2 separate regions of the Homo sapiens genome follow, and region 2 is linked to region 1. The links are contacts of gene promoters, found by promoter capture Hi-C in blood cells and fetal thymus (Javierre and others, 2016). All regions are on one chromosome and are shown on one strand. Each heading gives the region's core, a stretch centred on a gene start or on the middle of the fragment in contact. The rest is flanking DNA. Distances are from core to core; before and after follow the strand shown. Region 1 holds the start of RIMOC1 (RAB7A interacting MON1-CCZ1 complex subunit 1). Region 2 holds the start of LMBRD2 (LMBR1 domain containing 2).

What was found. The method cuts DNA at HindIII sites, captures the fragments that hold promoters and counts their contacts. A CHiCAGO score of 5 or more calls a contact.
Region 2: a fragment that was not itself captured here is called in contact with the fragment with the promoter of RIMOC1 in region 1 in 3 of 17 cell types (fetal thymus, naive CD8 T cells and neutrophils); the score reaches 6.6 in fetal thymus.

What each region holds. Positions count from the first base shown.
Region 1 is chr5:41,901,646-41,908,709 of GRCh38, forward strand. It overlaps RIMOC1 (RAB7A interacting MON1-CCZ1 complex subunit 1), which reads left to right and starts at 2,699. Exons shown (of 6, transcript NM_175921.6): 1 at 2,699-2,822; 2 at 6,091-6,197. The coding sequence starts at 2,723. RefSeq lists enhancers at 2,132-2,271, 2,383-2,929, 2,682-2,801. The HindIII fragment of the contact is 10,560 bases long and covers 17-7,064 here.
Region 2 is chr5:36,148,721-36,155,490 of GRCh38, forward strand. It overlaps LMBRD2 (LMBR1 domain containing 2), which reads right to left and starts at 3,167. Exons shown (of 18, transcript NM_001007527.2): 1 at 2,836-3,167. It overlaps SKP2 (S-phase kinase associated protein 2), which reads left to right and starts at 3,391. Exons shown (of 10, transcript NM_005983.4): 1 at 3,391-3,550; 2 at 4,051-4,322. The coding sequence starts at 3,543. It also overlaps the pseudogene RNU6-1305P. RefSeq lists silencers at 2,438-2,497, 3,098-3,237 and enhancers at 2,451-3,434, 3,508-3,697. The HindIII fragment of the contact is 674 bases long and covers 2,107-2,780 here.

The DNA.
Region 1 (7,064 bases), core at 1,449-3,948:
ATCATTTTTGTCACAAAGCTTGGTGTTTACCATAGAGGGCTAAAAATTAGAATCACACTCATAGCTAGAGAGAAATACTTTATTAGGAGCCTGGTAAATATGAAAGAGTCTTAACGTCAGGACTCAGTGCTCCTTGGTAGTTCAAACAGACAAGACTGGCTTAGCCTGATAGAGCCAGAAGAAATGTAGCAGAGTCTGGAGAGATTGAGCAAAGATGGCAAGGAAGAAGTTATGGGGGTAAGGGTGATTTTATTATGTTTCAATATTTTACAGTTCACTTAAACTTTGAACTAAATAAAATGCATTAACAAACATGAAGTTTCTACATTTGACCACGACATTAACTAGGGAAAGAGAACATAAAGGAAAACAAGAAAAAGACTTTGAAGTATTGGAAACACACTCCACTAAAATGTTTTTATTTTTTATTTTTATTTATTTATGTTTTGGGACAGAGTCTCTCTCTGTAACCCAGACAGGAGTGCAGTGGTGCGATCTCGGTTCACTGAAATGGCCACCTCCTGGGTTCAAGCAATTCTCCTGCCTCAGCCTCCTGAGCAGCTGTCACTGCAGTCATGTGCCACCATGCCTGGCTAATTTTTTTGTATTTTTAGTAGAGAAGGGGTTTCACTATGTTGGCCAGGCTGGTTTTGAACCCCTGACCTCAGGTGATCTGCCTGCCTACATCTCCCAAAGTGCTGGGATTACAGGCATGAGCCATTATACCTGGCCTAAAATGTTTTCAATAGCCACATTTATGGAGAGGGAACAGATAAAGCTGTGGTTGTAATAAAAGGGCCTTTTGAATATTTGACTCTAAATGTTTATTTTAAAAAGGAACCCTTGATTCAAATGGCGATCCAAGATCACTTCGAAATCATGAGCAAGATCTCCCAGACCCAAATCTCATGGCTAGAAAATGGATGACCTGATTACATAGATCCTAAGATGTCTTTTATAAAAGCCTGAGAAGAACAGTGGACCTGAGAGTAAAACACTTCTGCAGAGATAATTTGTAGATCCACAGTCAAAATATTTCAGCTGTGCCTTTGTCTGTTGCCCACATGTCCAGGTAATTCTTTTAAGTAGTTTAAGAATGGTAAATTACACATTTTCTAGGAGACTGAAAATTCCTAATCAAAGGTTAATTATTTTTTGAAAATTATTTTTTGAAAAGTTTAGTAAAATCTTCTGAAGGCTTCATTTAGTTCTACATCTTGTAGAAGATTCAGAAGGCATCAGGTGTAACCTTCTGCTCTTTTCTCTATCCATTGCTGGCTCCCTACTTTCATTTTGAATTTATCCCTATTTCCCTATTTTTCCCCCTTTGTGTACAGATACGATCATTCTCCACCCTACCTTCCAGCACTTGCCCCTCTTCAACTACCACCTTCTCCATCCCTTGTTGAGAAAGCCTTCTCTCAACTTCTTGTTTATACTTAGATTCTTTTTTTCCTCACCTACAATTCCCACACTATTGAATAATTGTCTACTCCCACAGACCACATCATATCCCCTTGCCATCTTGCTTGTTGACAAGAGTGCATATGTGCCAGGCACTGTATGAGGCACCAAGGACACAAAATACATGATTCCTGTCCTCTATATTTAGGGTGAATTGTCAGAAGAAACTGGTATTACAAAGGTCAGTTAGAGAGTCATTGTGGTCAATCACTTATAAATCACAATACACTTTTTCTCTATTTTTAGTATTTTTCTATTACATATAAAAAACTACCTTCCATGAGAAACAATAGGATGGAGATTATTCAAGATATAGTGTGTCAAACTGAGAAATGAATACACAGAGTTAACGATTTGTTTGACCAGAGGCAAGAAAGCATTCACAGAATGCAAAGTGAAGTTAGACTTGCTGACTGAGTGCTTTGAAACTCCCGATTGAGAGGATGAACCTCATGCACAATTAGCGCCTTAAGGGAAGGTCTTGAGATGAAAGAAAAATGAAAATAGTTTTGTGGCCGCAGAATTTACTACCACTGGACGCAAGATGTCTAAAGTACTTTAAATGTGAACTCCAAGGGAGGTCAGAGATAAATTCGACTGCTAAAAATCAGATTTACAAAAGCAATATTCAACCATGTAGACTGGCAACTCCACTAGTGTTTGGAGCTCCCCATCCAGATGTACAACAAACTCTTGGAGACTTGGATGTGTTACACAGGGGGCCGGTCGGGTTTCCATTTAGGACCAGGAGATTATAATCACTTTATTTTAGCAACCTCCTTACTACAAGGCCAAAACTGACAGTCCTCTCTCCAGACCCTCGCGTCCGCCCTCCAGACTGTGCTTCCCGCGCCGGACAGGGAAGTGGGAGTGCGGACGACAATCCGCATCCTGCCAGCCAGACGTCACCAAGCTGTCTTCCAAGAGGCAGGCGGAGAGAGCTGACTTCCGATTGGGTCAGCCGAGGGGCACGGCTGGCTCCCTATTGGCTTACAGGAGGGGGCTAGAGAGAGGCGTGTCTCAACGTCACACCCGCCCCTAGTCTCCTTGCTGCTCAGGATTATGGGAGGGAAGGGAAGTCCAGGAGGGAAAAATGACCCGGAAAGACCTTTGCCGGCCTGGGCCAGCCCTCTTCCGGAGCTGATGTCTCCTCCCACCAACCAGGAGAGGTCCGCCCTAGGCCCCGCCCGTGCCGGGGGATCAGGTGATTGCGGGCCAACACGGTCACGTGACCGGGGCGCACCCGCCGATTGTGGCCATGGCGGCCGCAGTCTCTAGTGTGGTGAGACGAGTGGAAGAGCTCGGGGATCTGGCTCAGGCCCACATACAGCAACTTAGCGAAGCTGCCGGTGAAGATGGTGAGGGAGCGGAGGAGAGGGAGGCGGGCGGGGCAGACGGCGCTAAGGTACTGGCGCTCGATGGCTGTGAGGGCTAGAGGCTGAGGCCTGTGTTCCTTTGGGTCCCAGGCCGCAGGTGGTTACCCGAGGTCTGTCGCTTCTGAGCCCCTCTGCGCCATCGATTGCCCACTTCCCAGAACTCACAATGCCAAGGCGTTGTCTTCGAAAACCGCATTATTCAGAACCCATGGAAAATCTGTCTAGATCCGTGCTGGTGTAAACTGTCTCGGTAGCGATTGGAAGAAGGGCAGAATCTAAATAAAATACAGAAGTTTAAATAAATGGCTAAGATGAATGATAACACTCAAATTAGTTATGGTGGTTTGCATCCTGTAAAGATAAAAAGACATGTATAACAGTTCCACTTTTTCATTGCTGCGTTGTAATTTGCGTTTTACGTTTTGGATTCAAAACAACATTCTATAGAAGAGCTTTACATTGGTGTGTAGACTATTCTGCCCCATACATCATGCCAGTTCTCACAAGGGCTCTGTTAAGTATTGGCATACTTGTTTTGGAAAGGTCTAAGCTGTTAGGAAAAACTGGGCTAGGGAATTGCCTCAACCTTCTGAATTTAAGTCCAATTCTTTTCATTACGTCTCAGCTGCCTTTAGGTTCTACATTATTCCTTTTTGAGTTTGAGCAATTACTACAGATAGTTTTTAAAATTCTGTGGACTGACTCATATCATCGGACTCATAGGAAAACAGTGGTGGAACATTTTCTTAAGCGATTGAATAGTTGGTGAATTTGTTATTAAATAGGGTCTATGATGAAATGCCTTAGTTTCAGTGAATATTTTTTGCCAGATTATCATTTATCAGGAGTGTTTTGTTTTGTTTTGTTTTTAGAGGCAGAGTATCATTCTGTTGCTCAGGCTGGAGCCCCTCTAGTAGTGGGACAACAGGCGCACACCATCTCGCCCGGCTAACTTTGGCATATTTTGTAGAAACGGGGTTCACCATGTCATCCAGGTTGGTCCTGAACTCCTGGGCTCAAGCATTCCACCCGCTTTGGCTTCCCAAAGTGCTGGGATTACAGGCGTGAGCCACTGTGCCAGGCCAGGAGTGTGTTCTTTAAAGACCTACAGACCACCCTGAAGCCGACTTATATTTTGGTCTGTGGATTCACATGAATAATTCTTGGGTAGTAGGAGCTATTAACTTGAAAGTTATCTATGTTACCTCTAATTCCAGATTCACTTGAACCAGTCCAAAGAGACCAAAGAATGTTTTTTATTCACTTATCACTGAACTAAAAAGCCATTCTCATTTCCCTTGGAAGAGTTCTTTAATCTGGAATGAATCAGAGCTGGAAATAAAAGTCATGTGCTATATATGGAATTCTTGTTTGAAGGCTTTATACTTCTGAAAATTTACTAAAATAAAATGACAATGTTAGTGGTCCACATTATGAGCCGTTGATCAGCATGGAAATCAGTTCAATCTTAAAAATATTACAAGATTTATGAACTTTAATTAAAACAAGATTTCATGTACTTGAATTGAATTTGGCATTATTTTTCCACGCAACAAGAATAATATACATTCAAACTTTGTTCTTTAATGTAATGAGTATATATTTATACTAGGATATAAGGGTTTGATGATTTCCATTGTCTTCTTCAGATTAGATGAGATACAGCCAGACATTATTTCATCTAAGAATGCGTCTTTAAATTTCTAGCCAATTTTTGTTAATTTATTTCTCATCATACAAGCACAATCTGTTTACTCTATGGAAGTACGTCATGAGGGAGTTTTTCCACAGATTATATAAGAATCAGTTTCATCTTTTGCTTTGCCAGTCATTACTTTGACTAAATAGTTCTAGTCAAAATACTGCATTTTATGGGCTTTTCCAAAGTGTGAGTTATGCCACCACCACACCCCTGCCACAGTAATTATGTCATCAATTTATGTGACATACTCTTTCAGCAATGGTTTAGTGAGTTCAATGCAAATCTTTACATTGAAAATAATCCTGCAAGTTAAACAAAATATCAACACACTCTCTAAAGAAGCACCTAAGGCATGTCATATTCCATGTAATTTCAGTTTATAGTAGAATCTTTTTCTACATTGTGTGGATGTCACTTCTGGGCTAATGAGAGGTGGAAGGACAGTGCTAAGAAGTAGATTTCAACTCAAGTGAAAGTGGATCTTACAGCAGTCAAAATGCAATCTCAGGCTTTACCTGAGAAGACTTAAGGCAGCAGTCACATGATTGCCAACAGACATAACCTGATGGTGCTTTTGCTCCAACAATGAACACCTTATCTGTGTAACTCCTGAGGCTGGATCAGGTAGGCCTACACCAAATGCTACACTATCTGTTCATTGGCCCATGAAGAAGAAAGGGATATATTTTAGAATATCAGACTATGTTTCAGAAGGGAAGCACTGAGAGGTAAACTCAGAGAGTTTAGTGTCTTGATTATGGGTGTATCTAAATTTGACTTCATGAAGTGCTGCAGAAGGGTGGATAGTACCTTGAAGTGGACACATAAGAAAAGGTGAAATCACAGAAGCAACAAAGGGATTATGACATTAGAGAAAGGGAAAAAAAATCAGGAGATGGTGAAGGCGGAGGGAGGGTGAATTGTGATTAGAGGACTTATTAGAAGTATTTAGTTCCTTTTCTTCCAGGTTTTGAGGAAATGAGGTAATTTGTTTCTAAGTTTTTAAAGGAATTAAATACACAGATGTATTATGTAATTTTAATTGTAGTAGATATAAACAATTATAAAATTGCTCATAATGCTGGCATTTTGTAAGGAATTTGATTTGGTCAATCATGGTCTTTTGAATAACATTTGCAACTACATTTATGAAATCTTAAGTTTTCAGTGGAAGCCCTTTCTGTATATTTATGTATATTATTTGTATATTCCAGTAAGTTTTAAATTTGTTTAATTATTTTGAGTGCATTATCATAAAAGAAGCATAATGAGAATACAGACTGCATTTAAGAAATGGCAAGAGTGACTCTAGAAAGTTTTCAGTATTTTGCTTTGTAGGAAAAATTTTCATGATAAATTTACTTAATTAGGATTAGGCATTATGAGATATTTCATGTTTTAGATAAGATATTATTACTATAATTCTGTTTCTCCATATGTCATAATATTATTTCATCTTGTCATTTCATCTTCATACATAATGTGTTTTTTGTTTAAATAACACTCTGAAACTAGGTGAAGTAATCCTCATGTTTTTATTTCTTATAGATCACTTTTTAATTCGGGCCTCTGCAGCATTAGAAAAATTGAAACTCCTGTGTGGAGAAGAGAAAGAATGTTCAAATCCATCAAATCTTCTAGAACTTTACACACAGGTACTGAAAGAGTGGTGGACTCTGGCATTTTATGAGGGCAGGTTGTTTATTTAGATGATTGACTCCAACTTTAGGTAAAATGAAATCAGTTTATTCTATATTTCAAGTGTTTAATTTTGTCCAAAAAACTATGAATAAAACACAAAAACTTAAAACTTTGAGGTAGTATGAAAAGAAGTAAGATTTATTAGATGTGTTAATAAGAAAAGTCAGGAAGAAAATCTTACAGATAACGGAATTGTTTTCCTTTAGAGATAATTGAACAGGACACTAGTGTGTGCAATGTCCAATCTCTTGAAAGTTTCAGAGGGAGCAGGGGAGTATATAAGGGCCCTGACTTTTTTTTTTTCCCCTGAAATTTACCTTCCCTAGGATTCTCAATATTATTCTCCCTGCTAGTGTCATGCATATCTATGTGATTTTTCTATTCACCCACTTTTTTTTTTAACTTTCCTTTCCAAATCAGGCTGCTGTGTGGACAACACCTTTTTTTCTTGGTTTTCTGAAACACTGCTGAGGCATGCTAACATCAAGAAATGTAATTTTATTATGGTAACTAACATCTATATAGCACTTTGTAGTTGATAGAGTGTTTTCATGTGCCCTTTTTGGATTGCTAAGGGATAATAAAACTGAAGTGGTTACAGAAAGTACAGTACACTTAGTTAGGCTTCCAAAGTGCCCATTTATAGCATTTAAATGCTTGGTGCTGTTCTTCCTGTTAGGAAATTTCTAAAGATAGCTTCTGCCTTCAAACACCATGGATGAGTAAGCCTAACAGCTACTCACAAACCACAGAGAACTGTTTTAAGTTTGGCAGGTATTTTGCTTGGTTTTCTTTCTGTTCAGAAGACTCTGTGCTTGTCT
Region 2 (6,770 bases), core at 1,194-3,693, 5.8 Mb before region 1:
GTGAATGGTAAAGCTGGGATTCAAATAGAGGCATCTTTACTACAGAGCCTGGATCATAATTACATGTCTCTTCTCTAATCTAGACATAGTTTCTTAATGCAATTTAAATTGCTTAATGATTTATTTTGTTCAGTCTTCACAGGGAACAAATTAGAAACTTTCTCCCATTTCTTTTAGATATATCAGGACAGAATGCTTAGTCATGTTTAATAAAGAATTTAACGCAAACTTTTTACATTACAGATTATACTACTATTACTTGATTTAAGGGTAATATATGACTGTACTCTACATGGGAAAAGTGGAAAACATAGAGTAAATTAGAATCCGTTTGTTCTTGCCCCAAGCTGCCTATCTTAGAGCATTAAATTACAATGAATTAAAGATCTACTTAGTTCCAAGCACCATTCATTCATTTAGCAAATATTTACTGAACGCCTACTATATGGTGAGCTCTGTTCAAGGGGCTGGAGATAGAAAAATCCAAGCAAAGTCCCTGCCCTTAAAAAGTCTAGTGGGAAGAAACAGGCAATTAAAAAAAATACATTAGGGGGTGATAAGGGTTATGTAAACAGGTAGCTGCCACCACCACAGAGACTATCAGTTCTGGAAATACATTATTCAAGATTAGTTTGGCTACACATAACAGAAAAGTCCAATATAGTACAGACTTATACAATGCAGAATTTATTTCTCGTGTAAGTCTTGAGATAGGTGGTTATGGCAAGTTAGCAGATTATCAGAGGCCCAGGCCCCTTCTATAGTCCACATCCTTAGCAGGTGGCTTTAATCCTTATGTTCCAGGACAGATGCTGGAACTCCAGGAATCCTATCATCATCTAGACAGCAGGATGGAGAAACAAAGAAGGGTGGACCGTCTTCCTTTTAAAGAGATGTAAGAATCGGCTGGGCACGGAGGCTCACGCCTGTAATCTCAGCACTTTAGGAGGCTGAGGTGGGTGGATCATCTGAGGTCGGGAGTTCGAGACCAGCCTGACCAACATGCAGAAACCCCGTCTCCACTAAAAATACAAAATTAGCCAGGCGTGGTGGCGCATGCCTGTAATCCCAGCTACTCAGGAAGGCTGAGGCAGGGGAATTGCTTGAACATGGGAGGTGGAGGTTATGGTGAGCCGAGATTGCGCCATTGCACTCCAGCCTGGGCAATAAGAGTGAAATTTCTTCTCAAAAAATAAAAATAAAATTAATCAGAAAAAATAAGATACATCAGTAGCAATCACAATGCAGTTCTTTATGACCAGATAGCAACCTCTATGTACCTACTAATCTCGTCTTCAATGGACACAATTCCTTACGTTAAAAAGAATCTAATGTACCAATTTAAACTTGCATTTATTATATTAAGGCAATAGTCATGATTAGAAGGAAGGCAAAAAAAAATTATTCCCATATTAGGAAGATGAAGTATGTCTGTTACCGGGGCAAACTATCAAACTGAATTTCAAAACTGACAGGCTCTCCCTGAAGTCCTAGAGAGGATCTTGTGTTCACTAATTCAGATGTTGCAAGTATTCTAGTTCCCAGGTAACTCCTAGTAAAACCAAGACTGAACAAAGATATTTCTCATCTTTAAATTTAGAATCATCTCATCGATTAAACCTTCCTATCTATGAGATCTATATCTGAAGTGGGCTCTCCCAATTATTTTACATCTCAAAACTGTTTATTCTCATTATGGCATCTTAAATATTTTTGTTTATTCTTTCTCCTCCATTAGCTTACAGGCTCTCTCTGTTTTGTTCCCTTTCCTGAAGGAAACTATAATTTTTTGTGTCAAAAATATTTTCTCCTATGAGTTGCAATCTTCAGGGAAAGGACGTAGCTTCAAACAAAGGCAAATGCTTTCTCCTTAGCCAAAGTAACATAAAGGTCACTTTCTGTAAAACATCAGGATATTGCATTTTAAAATGCTTTCCATATAACATTAGTTTGATGAACGGCTTAGCCTAGGATTCTGCACCTAGTTCCAATCAAAACCAAGTTGTGAACAGATCCCTTCTTTACACCAATCTCATCTTTCAAGAACGAGCTAAAGGTTCATGAATTCCTTCCTCAAGAGGCAGTTACTTTTCAAGCTAAGGACCAAGCTTGAAACAAGCATATACCTGCACAAGGGAGGTTTAATTTCACTACAGAGCGAATCATTTTTTCAAGGAAACCAGAGGGTGTGTCATACAGCATCACTGAATATTCTAATATGCGATGAAGCTGTTATGCTTCCTTATGAACTTTATAAATCTTCATTTTTATGAGGCTTAGAATTCATCCCCCTTCCCTCTTCCACTGTTTTCCCGGGGTCACAGTTGTAGTATAGTTTGCCCAATGGATTTCGCATGGTCATTGTACCTGGAATATGTCACGCTCCCTACTCTTACTGCCCCCAAACTCTTCTCAGCAGAGATAGGCTGAAAGCAGCTCGCTTTTAGGCGGCGACGCAAACACACGTAGCCAGCTGAGCGACAGCAAGCAACCAAATGGCTTTGCTGGAGGCCCCCTGCGTGCACGGGTAAAGCTCGTTGCAAAATACAGTCCTTTCATTTATTCCCATGTTGCTATTTATGAGACCTGTCAAGGCTGCAAGGGCATGCGCAGCCTTCCCACCACACAGGACCCGCTGGGGTCTCCGGCTCCCCTAAAATTAAACCATTGTCTCTCGTTCCAACGGCGTGTTTAGCTGTTGTGCGTTATTTTACAGATAAAGGAAGGATCCCGTCCACAGACCCAATTCTTAGGGCCGCCTTCTCCCCGACGGAGGAAGAAGCTTCCTGGCAAAAGGACGAACAGGTGCGACGCCAGCAGTTCGCAGCCTCTCACCTGGCCGGCGGGCTGGGCTACTGTCACCACTCAGCAGCCAAGGACTTGGGCCCCGCAGCGGCGGCCACTCGGGGTCTGCCGGGTCCCCTCTCTTTCCGCCTGCTCTCGGCCCCGGACCCCAGACTCAAAAGCGCCTCACGCGTTCCGCCTTAGGCTCACCGTCCGATCTCGCCAGACAGCGTCTGGACGGGACCGGGAAACGGCGGCCGCCACAGCTGTCCAGGTTCTGGGATCCACGCTCAGAGACGACAGCGCTGGCGATCACCAGAAGGCCTGCGGGCTCCCGAGAAAGGAAAATCCGTCTACAGTCCAGCGGCTGACATTTCCCAGTCAGCCGTAGCGCCGCCCGCTTCCGCCTCCCCGCCTACCCCGTGGGCCGACCAGTCCCGCTCCCGCGGGGGGTTGTGGGTATCTCGAAGGCGGGTAAAGCTGCAAGGGAAGGAAGTAAGGGCGAGCCCGTCGGACTACGAAGCGGGACGGAAACTACAATTCCCAGCAGGCCTTGGGCCTCAGTGCGGCCGCGAAGCAGAGCGGGCTGTAGAGCCTTGCGCGCGCAGTGGGGATGGAACGTTGCTAGGCTTAGCGGGTCTGGCTGCTGGGGGCCCGAGCAGCACGCTCGGAGCCGCCGCGCGCCAAAGCGGGAATCTGGGAGGCGAGCAGCTCTGCAGTTAATGCACGTATTTTAAACTCCCGGGCCTGCGGACGCTATGCACAGGTAAACGGATTGCAAAAAGGGGAAGAGCATGAAATGGACCCTCTTAATAATTCTTTTAGGCCGCGAATATCGCTACTGGCTAATATTGTTAGTAATGCTGTTAAGTGAATGGTTGCTTAGCCCCTTCTTGGGGAAAGTGTGAATGGATGGATGCCTTAGTGCGGGGATCAGCGTGTGGTTTTATTTGGCTTCCCTAATTGGGCTTTTCTGCCACCGTTTTCAATCAGTGTATGATTGCCCTGTCTCTCTCCTTGTCTGTTCCCTCCACTGGGAGAAATTCTTGAGGCCTTCTGCAGGATCGTAAGTCAAAAAGCCTTCTCGATTTGTTCTTTTCATTTCTTCGTTTTCTTGGTAACTCGCCGCAGGCACATAAAAAATGCGATTCTGTTAGCTGCTGTGAAGGTTTCCTACAATGCATAAACTGCAGCTTCTTTAATTGCCTTGAAATTATTTATGGGTGTGTTTTCGAAAGGAACCGGGGGTATTGTGCACTTCTGCAGGAAGCACCTCCAGGAGATTCCAGACCTGAGTAGCAACGTTGCCACCAGCTTCACGTGGGGATGGGATTCCAGCAAGACTTCTGAACTGCTGTCAGGCATGGGGGTCTCCGCCCTGGAGAAAGAGGAGCCCGACAGTGAGAACATCCCCCAGGAACTGCTCTCAAACCTGGGCCACCCGGAGAGCCCCCCACGGAAACGGCTGAAGAGCAAAGGGAGTGACAAAGACTTTGTGATTGTCCGCAGGCCTAAGCTAAATCGAGAGAACTTTCCAGGTAAGGACATGAGGGTAAAAATGTCAGTTATGCAAAGGGTGGATTTAGCTATGTTGTTGGGAAACCTTTGTTCAGAGATCTTTAGCATGGGTTCCTTTTAAGATTGCCTAATTCTGAAGCTATTTTTCAACAAAATAGGGCAAGTCGTCAAGTATGCAGGAATCTTGGTAGATATATATATATATATATATATATATATATGTATGTTCTGGTGCATAATCACCTTGAAAATTTTAACCCATGAGAAGACATTCCTGCCTTTTTCCTTAGAAGGGAATCTGCCTGCCTCAAGGCCAGCTCAGTTTCACCGTTTAACAGAAACATAAACAGTGGTCTTCTTGTAGGATTCCTTTTGCTTTGTACCCCTGAGTGATCTTTTTGCCTTAATCACTTTAGTTATTTATCAGTGGACTGCGAAGTGAACGTTCACCTAAGTGGGGGAGACATCTCCCCAGGCCCACTCCCACCCCCATATTGGCTTCTCCTGGTATGTTCTGTCTCCATTACTGCTGACACTATCTGTTTAATCACCCAACCCGAAAACCTGAGAGTCAGTCAGCTTCCCACCGCCCCCCAACATCCAGTCATTCATCGCATCTTTCCCTCTTCTCTGGTAACTATTTCTCAAGTTCTCGTCGTCTCTTGCCTGAACTATTGGAGTGGATTCATAATTCCAACCTTCTTCTCCCCAGATCTATCCCCCGAACTAGAATGGATTGACTGAAATGTAGAACTTACTGTATCTTCCCTCCTTAATAGCTCCCCATCCCCTAGTTCCTCAAGCAGGCGAACGAGTGCCTCCCAGAGTGAACCAGAACCCTGGAGTATGCAAAAGCCATAGGATAAACAGGGCATTGACCTGGGGTTATCAGTTTTTCTTACTAGTAAGCTATTTAAAACAGTAATACAGCAAATATTTGCTGAGCACATACCATGTGCTAGGCCGTGTTCCAGGTGCTGGAGATAGAGGAGTGGGCACAACAAACATTTCTGCTCTCAGGGAGCATCCATTCTAGTGAGAGAATACAATAAACACAATAACTATTTTTATATAGTATGTTAGAAGGTGATAAGAGCTATGGCTAAAAACAAAAATAGAACAAGCCAAGAGGGAATGCAGGTCTTGGGGTGGGAAGATAGAGTGCACTTTTAAACCAGGTATTGAGAGAAAGCCTCAATTGGACAGTGACCTTTAAGCAAAGACATAAAGGAGGCAAGGAGTGTGCCATGCAAATATCTTGGAGAAAAGAGCTCCAAGCAGAAGGAACAGCCACTGCAAAGACCCTGGTGCATAAATGTGACGTATTTGTTCCAGGAACAGGGAAGCCATATTCTAAGAGTGGAATGAGCGAAAGGGAGAGTCGGGGGAGATCAGGCTGGAGGTAATGTTGAGCAGAGTTGTGATGGGACCTGATTTAACCTTCTAAAAATGACACACTGATGTGTTGAGACTCAGCTGCAGGGGCATCAAGGGTAGAAACTTAGGGTCTTTTTTAAATTTCATATTTTCAAGACGGAGTCTTGCTCTGTTGCCCAGGCTGGAATGCAGTGACCTGCTCTTGGCTCACTGTCTTCACCTGGATTCGAACGATTCTCCTGCCTCAGCCTCCTAAGTAACTGAGACTACAGGCATGCACCACCACGCCCAGCAATTTTTTTATTTTTTGTAGAGATGGAGGTTGCGGGGGCGTTCTCACCATCTTGCCCAGGCTGGTCTCAAACTCCTGGACTCAGGCGATCCTCCAGCCTTGGCCTCCCAAAGTGCTGGGATTACAGGCATGAGCCACCACACCTGGCCAAAGCTTGAAGTCTTGTTGGGGGTGAGGGTGGTCAGATTCCGGATATATTCCCACATTAAAGTCAACAGAATTTAGGAGGCTGTTGAAATCATCTGTGGAAGAGGTGATCAGAGTCTAAATTGAAATCAGGTGGGGGATGATGGCGAAGAAGAAACAGATTAAACATTTAAAGATGAAGTCTTGCAGACCCAAGGTAATTTAAGTATATTCATAAATTCTCCCATCTGGTTTCCTTTGCAGAAGGGTTGATAGATTGGTTGTTTAGTTGATTGGTTGGTTGCTCGCTTTGGCAGCACATATACTGAAACTGGAAATACAGAGAAGATTAGCATGGCCCCTGCGCAGGAAGACATGCGGATTCGAGATGCATTCCACTTTTAATTAAGAAAATAAATACGTTTGTTTTCAGCCTTTTCTTTAGGAAAGAGAACTTTGCCCAATTTATGGTCTGGGAATATACATCAGGAATTGGATTAGTTAGAAAAGCAGTAGAGGGTTGTAGTGAAGTCAGATCTGGGTTTGAATCCTCATTCTTGCGTTTATCAGCCTTGGAAAGTTATTCGAGCTTTCTTTGCCTTAGTTCCTTTATCTGTGAAATGGAGTGCTGTAATAATACCCACTTCACAGGTCGTCGTGAAGATTAAATGAG